Linked DNA regions of Homo sapiens: all the other regions are linked to region 3. Evidence: promoter capture Hi-C in human tissues and cell types (Jung and others, 2019). All regions are on one chromosome and are shown on one strand. The core of a region is centred on a gene start or on the middle of the fragment in contact, and the rest is flanking DNA. Distances in the headings are between cores, read along the strand shown.

Region 1 (4,171 bases), core at 1,672-4,171, 1.9 Mb after region 3:
GAAATTAAACAATATGCTCTTAATGACCTACCAGGTGAAAATCTATACAGGAAAAACTAAAAAACACTGATGAAAGAAATTGAAGATGACACAAACAAATGGAAAAACATCCCATACTCATGACTGGAAGAATTAAGATAGTTAAGAAGCCCACACTGGTCTATAGCAATCTAAAGATTTAATGTAATCCATATGAAAATACCAATGTCAGTCTTCACAGAATTGTAAAAAACAATTATAAAATTCATATGGATCCAAAAAGAACCTGAATAGCCAAAGCTATCCGGAGAAAAAAGAACAAAGCTGGTGGTATCACTTTACCTGACTTCAAAGTATATTACAAGGCTATAATAACCAAAACAGCATGATATTGGTATAGAAATAGATACATAGACCAATGGAATATAACCCAGAAATAAGGCCACATGTATACAGCCAATTGATTGTCAACAAAACTGACAAGAACTTATATTGAGGAAAGGACACCTTCTTCAATAAATGGTGCTGGGAAAATTGTATACCCACACACAAAAGAATGAAACTGGATTCTTCTCTCTCACCATATTAAAAAAAAACTCAAAATGAATCATACACTTAAATGTAAGACCCAAAACTATAAAAAAAAAAAACAGCTACAAGAAAACCTAGGGAAAACTCTTTTGAACATTGGTCAGAAGAGTCAGAAATTATGACTAAGTTCTGAAAAGCACAGGCAACAAAAACAAAAATAAACAAATGGGACTTAATAAACAAAAAGCTTCTGCCAGGAAAAGAAATAATTAGAGTGAAGAAACAACCTGTTGAATTGGAGAAAATATTCGCAAACTATTCTTCTGACAGGAGACTAATATCCAGACTATACAAGGAACTCAAACAACTCAACAGGAAAAAGCAAATAATCCAAGTAAAAAGTGGGCAAAGGACAGGAATAGACAGTTCTCAAAGAATACATAAGAACAGCCAATACGACAAAATGGTCAGCGTCACTAATCATCAGAGAAGTGCACATCTAAACCAAAATGAGATACCGTCTTACCCAGTCAGAATGACTATTACTAAAAAAACAAAAAATAACAGATTTTGGCAAGGATGAGGAGAAAGATAACTCTTCTGTACTGTTGGTGGGAATTTAAACTAGTACAGCCACTTTTGAAAACACTATGGACATTTCTCAGGAACTAAAAATAGAATTACTATTCGATCACTCAAGCAATCCCACTACTGGGTATCTACCCGAAGGGAAAGAAAGAAATACATCAAAGAGATACCTGCATTCACATGATTTTTGCTGCACTATTCACAATATCAGAGATATGGAACCAACCTAAGTGTCAATTAACAGATGAATGGATAAAGAAAATATAGTATACATGCTATTTGGCCATAAAAAAGAATGAAATCGTGTCATTTGCAGCAACATGGATGGGACTAGAATTCATTATCTAAATTGAAATAAGTCAGACACAAAAAGACAAATGTTGCATGTTCTCACTTACATGTGGGAGCTAAAAAAATATTATCACATGGAGGTGGACAGTAGAAAGATAGACAACAGAGACTGGAAAGGGTCAGATGGGGGAGGACAGAAGATGAAGAGAAGTGAGTGAAGTGCTACAAACATACAGTTAAAAGGAATAAATTCAGCGTTAGAGAGCAGAATAGTGTGATTTTAGTTAACAAGAATGTATTGCACTCACGTGACGGACACTCTAAATATCCTGACATAATCATTACGCATTATATACATGCAAAAAAATTTTACATCTACTCCTTAAGTTTGTAGAAATAAAAAAATTTACAAATATATGGTGGCAAATTCTAATACCTCATAGGTATTAGAGATTTGCCAGATGCATACTGCACAGAGGAAAATAGAAAACCATGTGAGCTAGACCTAAAAATTTTAATTTTGTCAGGATATTCTGCTCACGTTGTCCAGAAATATGTCTTTTGTGCCACATTTAACTGTGAGAAGCAGATTTTTCACAGGAAAGAAATTGCTAATCTCTATGATGAGGACCTAAAAAAAAATCTCTCCAGTCCACACTGCACTGAGTGGCAACATTAATTCAAAAGAAGTTTCTTCTGCACTGCAGTTCATAAAATATGTGTCCTTTTTGATTTACATGAAGATGTTGCATGGTTCTTATTTTGGAGATGTCATTGAAATTTTGTAAATCAGCGTACTAGCTGTCAAGGAAAAACCTCCATACTCATGTTTTAAAAAATATCTGGCATTCTACTGTGTCACTTGGCAAACTCACCAGTGTCCACAGCTCTAAAGCTAGATAGTGAGGGTGTGTGCTGAGGATGGGAAGCTATGGATGGGGATCATCTCAAGGGTAGGGACCAGGTCCCTGGCATCTCTTCTCCAGCCCGACCTACATACAGATGCTCACTATGTCTTTGGTGAATGAATGAATGAATGAATGAATGAGTGAATGAATGAGTGGCTATCACCCACACTGCACCTGGGACCCTTCTTCCTTTCACTGTCCCAGACACTCCCACAGACCCTACAGAATCCTATATCCTGCAGGACTGACTTTCTCATGGCGTGGGATGAGGCTGTGACTCTCTGGGGCCAGGAGTGACCAGCTCCCAGGTGTAAACAGTGGTGCACAGAAAAGCACCTCAGGTGGGCAGGGCCTTGGACACAGGTTTCGCATTCCTCAGATGCCCCGGGAGGCCCTGGTCCGGGCTCTGTTGCTCACAGGAAGCCCCGAGGTGGGAGGCGGGACACAGTCTCTTCTCCTCTGCTCTTCTTTGGGCAGGTCTCTGGGTCTCAAAGTTTCCGTCTGCTCTGTGCAGAGGGAGTGGAGCTCCGAGGGCTTGTGGCTTCGCAGTTCCTCTTCTGTGAACAGCCGAGATCACGCGCTCCTCCCCAGCCACCCGTTCCTCCCCGCAGTCCTTCCCCTCCACTCCCTTCCCCTTCTCTGCTCATGCAGGGAGCCCAGGAAGCCTCCGCCTCAGAGATGCTACCGCTGCTGCTGCCCCTGCTGTGGGCAGGTGAGTGGGCCAGGGGAGAGGTGCCGTGGGGCTGGGCCGAGCTGACCCTCATGTCTCCATAGGGGCCCTGGCTCAGGAGCGGAGATTCCAGCTGGAGGGGCCAGAGTCACTGACGGTGCAGGAGGGTCTGTGCGTCCTCGTACCCTGCAGATTGCCCACTACCCTTCCAGCCTCGTACTATGGTTATGGCTACTGGTTCCTGGAAGGGGCTGATGTTCCAGTGGCCACAAACGACCCAGACGAAGAAGTGCAGGAGGAGACCCGGGGCCGATTCCACCTCCTCTGGGATCCCAGAAGGAAGAACTGCTCCCTGAGCATCAGAGATGCCCGGAGGAGGGACAATGCTGCATACTTCTTTCGGTTGAAGTCCAAATGGATGAAATACGGTTATACATCTTCCAAGCTCTCTGTGCGTGTGATGGGTAAGGAACCAGCTCCAGGACTAGCCACAGGGGAAGGTCATGGGGGCCGTAGGGCAGGGCTGGGACGGGAGCCCCGTCTTGGGAGGCGGGTACAATTAAGCATGTTGGGCTCAGAGAAGGAGCTGGACCAGAGACTGGGCTTCCCCCTGGGTGAAACCTCAGACCTCCATCCTGATCCTGCGTCCCCATCTCCTCACCAGCCCTGACCCACAGGCCCAACATCTCCATCCCAGGGACCCTGGAGTCTGGCCATCCCAGCAATCTGACCTGCTCTGTGCCCTGGGTCTGTGAGCAGGGGACGCCCCCCATCTTCTCCTGGATGTCAGCTGCCCCCACCTCCCTGGGCCCCAGGACCACCCAGTCCTCGGTGCTCACAATCACCCCACGGCCCCAGGACCACAGCACCAACCTCACCTGTCAGGTGACGTTCCCTGGAGCCGGTGTGACCATGGAGAGAACCATCCAGCTCAATGTCTCCTGTGAGTGCTGGGCCAGGACGCCCGGGTCCCTGAGGGTGTGGGGGGACAGGGCAGGGCTGAGCCAGAGCTTAAAGTTGGGGACCTGGTTGCCAAAGAGGAGAGCCCCTTTCCCTGTTTTCATGGCTCCTGAGGGGAAGGCCCCATGCCTACCATCCCTCCTCAGGGATGTTGAGGCGGCCACCTCTTTCCACCCCAGATGCTCCACAGAAAGTGGCCATCAGCATCTTCCAAGGAAACAGCGCAGGTAGGAACCAGCCAGTC
Region 2 (3,935 bases), core at 202-2,701, 1.3 Mb after region 3:
GGATCTCGGCTCACTGCAAGCTCCGCCTCCTGGGTTCACGCCATTCTCCTGCCTCTGCCTCCGGAGCAGCTGGGACCACACGCACCCGCCACCACGCCCGGCTAATTTTTTGCATTTTTAGTAGAGACAGGGTTTCACCGTGTTAACCAGGATGGTCTCGATCTCATGACCTTGTGATCCGCCCGCCGCGGCCTCCCAAAGTGCTGGGATTATAGGCATGAGCCACCGCGCTTGGCCAACAATGATTTTTTAGGGACGTGATTCAGCTCATAACATTCTGTACTCTGGACTCCCAAAATTCATGTCCTTCTCACATGCAAGATCCCTTCACCCCCATCCTAACATCTCAAAAGTCTTATTATTATTATTTTTTGAGACAGAGTCTCACTCTGTTGCCCTGGCAGCAGTTCAGTGGTGCAAAGACAACTCATTGCAGCCTTGATCCCCTGGGCTCAAGAGATCCTCCCACCTCAGCCTCCCAAATAGCTGTGACTATAGGCGTGAGCCACCATGCCTGGCTAATTTTTGTATTTTTTGTAGAGACAAGGGTCTTACTATGTTGCCCCAGGTTGGTCTTGAATTCTTGAGCTCAAGCAATCCTTCCACCTTGGCCTCCCAAAGAGCTGGGATTACAGGCCAGAGCCACTGCTCCTGGCCCATTTCAAAAGTCTTAATCCATTTCAGTATCAAACTCTAAGGCCCAAATATTACCCAAATATTATCTGAATCACATATGGGTGAGACTCAAAGTGTGGTTCATCCTGAGGCAAAATTTCTGTCCAGCTGTGAAACTGTGAAGCCAAAGAAGCTATTTGCTTCCAAAATACAATGGTGGGACAGGCACAGGATAGACCGTCAGCCCTGGAAACCACCCTTCTACTCTGTTACTGTAATTTTGATGTTTGTAGATTGCACATGTAAGTAAGCACATGCAGGATTTGTCTTTCTGTGTCTAGCACATTTCGCTTAGCATAATGTCTTCAGGGTTCCTGGATCCAGCCACGGCTGCACATCAGATCTTCACGGAGATCCTAGTTCCCTGACTACTGAGTAACTTCAGCCTTAACTGGCTTCAGCCTCACTGGCAAGACCCGATGGAGTCCACCAGGCTCGCAAAAATCGATTTTGACTTAAATCAGTTCAACTTGACAAGAAGAAAACATCTTAGTTTCCAACAGAAGTGGACCACAACTTTAAGCTTTGACCTTAAAGTCTAAAACATTAACTTAAAATAGGCAGGAAGCAACGCTGCTTCACAGGACAAGAAATAGTCACAAATACTCCTAAATCGGGAGAACAAAGACTTGCTGGGTGGAAGGCAGAGCGAATAACAGGCCCCGCCCACCAAACAGGTCCCGCCCACACCGCCCGTCCCGCTTAGCCCACCTGGCCCCGCCCACTACCGCATCAGCCTTGCCCCACCCTTTCAGGGTTCCCAAATCTGGCCAGTCTTTCTGCCCTTTCCCTTGCGGGTCGCACCCCGCCCAGGCCCCTCTCCCGCCCCAGGTCTCTCAGTCTTTTTTCTCAGGGCGTGTAGCTTCCTGCACACCCGGAAGCAGATCGCGCGGGGAAAAGATCACAGCGCTGCGCGTCAGTTTCCGTCTACCTGGACTAAACATTTGCTTCGCCCCGTCTGCCTGAATCGAACGTGCACTTGGCAGTCTTCCCTTGTCCATACCCGTTTCCTGGGGATCGCTACGGACCTTAAAATACCAGCAACAGCCCCTTCGCCCCAAGTAAGTCTGATAATTGCTTCCCTTTCGGTTTAAAAATCTCTCTGAGGCTGTTCCTTGCTCCCTGCCTTTCTGCCTTAGGACCATGTAGACAACCCCACTCAGGTCGTGTTCCTGCTTAAAACCCTTACTGACCTCTGCTTCGGCCCTGCGCCAAGTCGAGTCCTCACTCGGGAGGTGGATTCCCGCCCGTTGCGACCCCGGAGCTTCTCCGTCGTCAGCCCCTGGAGGGGAGCGCCCGCCGTCCGGCTCCTGAAGGAGTCGCTTCTCCTCCCAGGTCCTGGGATTCTGCAGACCCTCCCTGTCCTGAGACACCGTACCCCCTGCCACCTTGTGTCCTCCTCACGCCGGGTCCTTTCGCTCCCCAGGCTTCCCCTTCACAGCCACTGCTTTTCTCGATCCCCCCCTTGGGGGAGGTCACCTGAGTCTTGTGACACCCAGTGTTCTTCCTTCCCAAATTTTACTCCACTGGAAAATATGCTTTTCCGGGAGGTGGGCATCCTATTCCTCCCCTTTCTTACTGAATGTGTGGGTGAGAGGGATCAGGAGAGGAAAAGAAGGGGAGCGACGGAGCAAAAGGAAAGACCGAATAGAAGAGAATGAGGGAGACCCATAAATACACGGCAAAATGGATGATAATTTAGGGATTTGCAAAGAGACAGCAAGAGTGAAAGAGAACGAATGGAGAAAGAAGCAGGGGGAGGAAAGCACACAGAGAAATTTAGAAAAAAAGGGGGACCTTCAGAGAGATGAAAGGCAGCAAAATAGAGTGGGGCGGCAAAGGAGGAGGCACTGCAGACAGACAGTGGGGAGAAGGTGAAAGAGTTGGAGCCGCAGCCGACAGAGCTACGTGGTGCTGGGACTGAAAGAGAGGGAGAGAGGGCAGTGGGTGACAAGCAGAGTAGAGGGAGAACCACAGCAGGGAGGAAGCCTAGGGAGTTGGGGGTGCTAGAGAGTGGGAACAAAGGAGGTGTAACAGGTAAGAGGGAATTTTAACAAGGAGAGCAGAGAGGGAGCTCAGATGGGGAAAAAGAGGCGGAAATACGTGGAGATTGGGGACAATCAGAAAGATTGGGGAGAAAGAGCTACGAGAGGTGAAGTAAGTTGCAGAGCATCGGGCAGAACAGACATAAAGAGGAGAAAAACAGAAAAGGGGAGGAAAGGTGCAGAATGAGAGAGGGACACACACAATAGTGAAGAAAGTGGGAGAGGACCCCATCCAGATGAGCGATGAGTTGATTGGATATGGATGGTGGTTGTAATATTCTAATTTGTGACTTTATACTCTAATTTAAAATTCATTTCTTTAAATTGTACTCGTGAGGATGAAAATTACCACTCTTTTCTGTAAGGCTTGTGCATTTTGTATTTATTTGTATCAAAAGATATTTGGAATTTCTGTTTAGCCAGAGAGCATTTAAATTAAGTCATTCGTGGTAACTCTTTTCTTCCCTGGGATGGGGTAGAGGATAGAGTAACTGAGAAATGGGGCGATAAATGACTGTCACTGTCACTACAAGGTATGTCTTTTTTTTTTTTTTTTCTTTTTTGAGACAGGGTCTTGCTCTGTCAGACTAGAGTACAGTGCCATGATCTCCGCTCACTGCAGCCTCAACCTCCTGGGCTCAAGCAGTCTTTCTGCCTCAGAGTGCTGGGATTACAGACGGGAGCCACCACGCCAGGCCTACGAGGTATATCTTTGTATGAGTATTCAGAGTCTTATTTTTTTTTGGTAATGGATTTGCTTTTTTCTTTTTTTGGGACGGAGTTTCGCTCATGTTGCCCAGGCTGGAGTGCAATGGTGCCATCTCGGCTCACTGCAATCTCCGCCTCCCAGGTTCAAGTGATTCTCTTGCCTCAGCCTCACGAGTACCTGGGATTACAGGCATGTGCCACCACGCCTGGCTGATTTTGTATTTTTAGTAGAGACAGAGTTTCTCCATGTTGGTCAGGCTGGTCTTGAACTCCCAACCTCAGGTGATCTGCCGGCCTCGGCCTCCTAAAGTACTGGGATTACAGGTGTGAGCTACTGCGCCTGGCCTACTTTTTTCTTTGTAGTTCCACTTAATTCATCGTTATTTTGGAAGCTTGAGATAAGTGTTAGTTTATTCAATATCTGCCTTTCTATAAATAATTACTGACTTCTGAAATAAGATTTGGTGGCATCCTATAATCAGCTGACGTCATTCATTTCTAAATGTT
Region 3 (4,339 bases), core at 1-2,500:
CCTCCTTCAGTAGATTCAAAACCTTAATAGGAGTAGTTCTAGCCATACTAAGAATTGGTTTGATACTCCCTTACCTCTTACCTCTCCGTGTTAAGAGCATTCAATCAACTATAGAAGCAATTGCGACCAGGCAGACTACCACTCAGCTAATAGCCCGATATAAATATCAGCCAGTGCTCTTTCATGAAGAATCCAGTAATAGTGATGTCTTCTAGTAAAATCTTGTTCATAAAAGGCATCTAAGGGAGAAAACTGAGGCAGAAAGTTAAAAAACAAACATGCATTCATTCACTCCAAGAAAAGTAACAGGCAAGGCAAGGGTTAAAAAGAAAAGAAGAACAAGTTTTCCTCTGCCTAGCAAGCTCGACTTGGCGAAGTCGAAGCCAAAGAAATGGGCTCCAGACAGCCCCCCACCTTCCCAGAACAAGAGTGAAGAAAAAAAAAAAAAGGACAAATGTGTGTATTTAGCTGTTCTTGTTTTTCTTTCAACTCAGCTACGAGGCCACCAGCTATGGAAGGACACAAGTTATGCTATGCTATAGATTACATGACCTATCATTATATGATTAACTGCTTTTATTCTGCTTCTGAAAGCAAAAAACCCCACTCCGTCTTTGTTGAAATGCTCAGCTTTTTAGATGTAAATCCACTGAGCCGGTGCGTATCTTAAATAAACATCCTTTTGTCTCCCCCATATCAGTCTGTCTAGTCCTCAGTTTCCCGCAACACCATCTCTGCGCCTCCTTTGCTCTCCCCGTTAAATTCTCTCTTCCCTGTTATACCCCCCTGTCCCCACTCTCTAGCACCCCAGATCCCCAGGTGTCCTCCCTGCTGTGCTTCTCCCTCTGTTCTCCTTGCCACCAGCACCACTCTGCTCTGTCTGCCCTGGCTCCAAATCCCTCCTCCTCTCCCTCACCCTGATGAGCCTCCCTCTTTGCTGTCCCTCTCCCTACCTTGCTGTCCTTCATCTCTCTGTACATCCAGCTTTTCTCTACATTTCTGCACTTGCTTTTCTCCTCCTGCTTTCTTATCGTTTTCTTTTCACTTTTGCTGTCTCTTGGCAAATCCCTCACCCATCCTCTACTTTGCCATCTGTTATAGGTCTTTCTCATTCTTCTTTTCTGTCTCAGGTTTTCCACTGCTCTCTGTCCGTCTCCTGATCCCTTTGGCCCACACAGTCACAGGAGGGTTTGGAGTAAGACGCCTGCATCCCGGGGGAGCGCATTTTCCAGGGGCTGGAGCTGGGCAGGCAGTAACACCCCGCGTCACAGGACAGGCCCCGGGCACCTCCCCAACGCGGGCTCAGGGGAAGCGGTGATTGTGGAGGCGAAACCCGTGGAGCAGCAGGGCCCGGCACAAGGAGGGAGGTGAAGGGGCGACAGCACCTTAAGGCAAGGGTGGGGTCTGCAGGATCCTAGGACCAGGCAGAGGACGCGGCCTTTCCGGGACTGGGGCAGCGGCGCTGGGCTCCAGGGGCCGACAAAGGCGAGAATCCACCTCTCAGGTGAGGACTTTAAAAAGCGCGGGGCGGGAGGAGTCAGAAAAAGGTTTACAGCAGGAAAACTACAGGTTAGAAAGTGTATACATTGCCCTGTAGCAGAAACACCCGGGACGGGACCAGCCTCAGGGGGACCTTAAACCCAAAAGGAACCGACCCACGGCCTCTCACGAGGTCGTCTCAATTTGCTCTGAGTGAAGGAAGACGGCTGAGAATTTCCAGGTTTGTGGGGATCCCAAGTCCCAGGTACAGAAGCGCCAGGAACCTGGAAGAGCAGACTTAATACAAGACAGGGCGAAACTCACGCGCCGCGGTGGCACCGTCACTCCACGCTATCCGCTTCCTGGTCTGCACGAATCTGCGCGCGCAGAGCAGAAGCCAGGCCTGGGCGGGACCCGCAAGGAGGTGGGCGGGGCCTGGACGAGGCAGGGGCGGGGCGCGAGGCGGAGAGACCTTGCGCTTTAGAGCCGGCAGAGGGCGGGGCCGGGGCGTGACCGGTGCTCCTCTCAGCTTCTCTCCTAGCACCTGTTTTCGGGTGGTGAAGGTGAGACCGCCCAGGAAGGCTGACGCATGGACTCAAAAGCCCTGGAATTGTCTGGAACGGGATACAAACTAGAATGTAAAATGCAAGGCCCTGCCTGGGCGGAACGTACGATTTCATGCTGACGGCCCACAGAACAGAACAGAAATCCTCTCCCTTTCTATTCTCCACTCACTCAGGAGGGAGAGTCCACCCCGTGCTCAGCTGCAGAGACTTCCCTAGGGCCTCCCCCTGGGATGCGGGACGGAATGCTCAGGCCAGCCAGGGGCGACCTGCTGGATAAACACAGCAAGGATTCAGGCGCGGGGGCGGGAGCCTGAGTTCCCAGCTACTCAGGAAGCAGCGGCGAGAGGATCGCTGAGCCTGGGGGTCCAGGCCAGCCTGGGCGACAAAGTAACACCCCTCCCTCAGGACTCCCTCCCTCGTCTCTCTCTCTTTTTTTCTCCATTTTTTAACGTTAAAATAAAATTTTGATTGTGTGAGATAGGGATACATTATTCTTTTCCATGTGGATATCCAGTTAGTTGTCCCAGCACATTTGTAGAAGAGATCTATTACTTTCTTTTATTTATTTACTTATTTCTTTTCTTTTATTTTGAGACAGAGCATTTCTCTGTCGCCCAGGCTGGAGTGCAGTGGCAGGAACTGGGCTCACTGCAGCCTCTGCCTCCTGGGTTCAAGCGATTCCCCTGCCTCAGCCTCCGGAGTACCTGCCATTACAGGCGCGTGCCACCATGCCCGGCTAATTTTTGTATTTTTGTAGGTGGGTTCCCCATGTTGGCCAGCTGGTCTCAACCTCCTGACTTCAAGTGATCCACCTGCCTCGGCCTCCCAAAGTACTGGGATTACAGGCGTGAGCCACTGTGCCTGGCCCCCCCAAAATACTTTTTACTTCACTGTCTAATTGTTGAGAAAATATAATTGAAAACAAACAAAAAGTCTTTCTCCAAATGAGAAATCATCTCCACGATGATCATAGAGAAAGAAATTAAAACCATTTCATTAATAAATAAGCCTTAGACCAGATTGTGATGCGAAATACAGGCAAACAGCTAAGAGGTTGAAAAAAGAGAAAGAAACTTTACTGTTCTATACAACCCATTAAGGACATGTTTTCAAGATAAACGCTAATCAGTCCTCAGGGAAGAGGACTTGACAACACTCTTGGTCACACATAGTTCATCCTGACTCTACTTGGTAATGGAGGTGACCATCTGTGTCAGCTAATTAGCTTCATTCTGAGGGACGGGGAGTAACACTAACCCATGTCTTTCTGACAAGTGTGAGTTTTACAACATAGCGACAGGTGCCCTCTCTGGTGAGGCTCCTACAGTCTGACAGAAACTGATATCAGCAGTAAATAATAAAATTTAGAATATATGATTAAGCACAGAGTTTATTTGAACACAAAGCATGAGGATAGCCACCTGGAAACATCAACTCCAAATGAATGGGATCAGCGTTCCCTTAGGTTTCACACACACGGAAAGACAGAGAAGCTTTAGAAGAATCACCACATTTTCCATTCAAGACCAGTACATAGGGTGCAGCAAGGTGATTGGTTATGGATTGATATACTTCAAGGAAGGTTACTTTATCACTCAATATAAAGGGACAATGATCCCAGGAGGTCTTATCTCTGGGGCTGCTTAGTCTTTTTAATTATTTACAGGAAAATTCTCTCTCTCTTTTTTTTTTTTTTTGGACGTAGTCTTGCTCTCTCACCCAGGCTGGAGTGCAGAGGCATGATGTCAGCTCACTGCAACCTACACCTCTCAGATTCAAGCAGTTCTCCTGCCTCAGCCTCCCAAGTAGCTGGGATTACAGGCATCCACCACCACATCTGGCTAATGTTTGCATTTTTAGTTGAGACAGGGTTTCACCATGTTAGCCAGGCTGGTCTTGAACTCTTGACCTCCGGTGATCTGCTCACCTCAGCCTCCGAAAATGCTGGAATTACAGGCGTGAGCCACCGTGCCCAGCCTATAAGTGGCTTTTTTACAGCGAATGCTATGCAAAACTTCTCATCAGTCATCATCATATTCAATAGCATTGCTTTTATCATATCACGGAAACCATTATTCTCATTTGGAACAGTCTGCCATCAACCTTCACAAATGCATATGGAAGCCCTCATGCTGGACTTCTCCTCACCCTAGAATCACCTGGGGGCAGGGTAGTTAATTGAAACAGCATGGATGTTTCCCCCGACACCAATAGACAGACGCTATGGGGAGGGCACAGGTGATGGTAGTAACTGAATATGACCATTTGATCCAACTGGAAGCCTGGGCTGAGAG

The links. The method cuts DNA at HindIII sites, captures the fragments that hold promoters and counts their contacts. A contact is called where the count stands out against the background at its distance.
Region 1: the fragment with the promoter of SIGLEC6 here is called in contact with a fragment that was not itself captured in region 3 in 1 of the 25 tissues and cell types used here (hippocampus).
Region 2: a contact is called between the fragment with the promoter of ZNF836 here and a fragment that was not itself captured in region 3, in 1 of the 25 tissues and cell types used here (hippocampus).

Annotation. Positions count from the first base shown.
Region 1 is chr19:51,530,420-51,534,590 of GRCh38, reverse strand. It overlaps SIGLEC6 (sialic acid binding Ig like lectin 6), which reads left to right and starts at 2,921. Exons shown (of 8, transcript NM_001245.7): 1 at 2,921-3,009; 2 at 3,072-3,431; 3 at 3,632-3,910; 4 at 4,107-4,154. The coding sequence starts at 2,943. The HindIII fragment of the contact is 9,007 bases long and covers 223-4,171 here.
Region 2 is chr19:52,169,137-52,173,071 of GRCh38, reverse strand. It overlaps ZNF836 (zinc finger protein 836), which reads left to right and starts at 1,451. Exons shown (of 5, transcript NM_001102657.3): 1 at 1,451-1,736; 2 at 3,291-3,424. RefSeq lists a silencer at 1,283-1,332 and an enhancer at 1,913-2,052. The HindIII fragment of the contact is 5,540 bases long and covers 518-3,935 here.
Region 3 is chr19:53,429,493-53,433,831 of GRCh38, reverse strand. The region is part of intron 9 of ZNF765-ZNF761 (ZNF765-ZNF761 readthrough); the gene reads right to left. It overlaps ZNF761 (zinc finger protein 761), which reads right to left and starts at 1,848. Exons shown (of 5, transcript NM_001289951.2): 1 at 1,804-1,848. It also overlaps the pseudogene TPM3P9. RefSeq lists a silencer at 1,892-1,971. The HindIII fragment of the contact is 5,404 bases long and covers 1-3,952 here.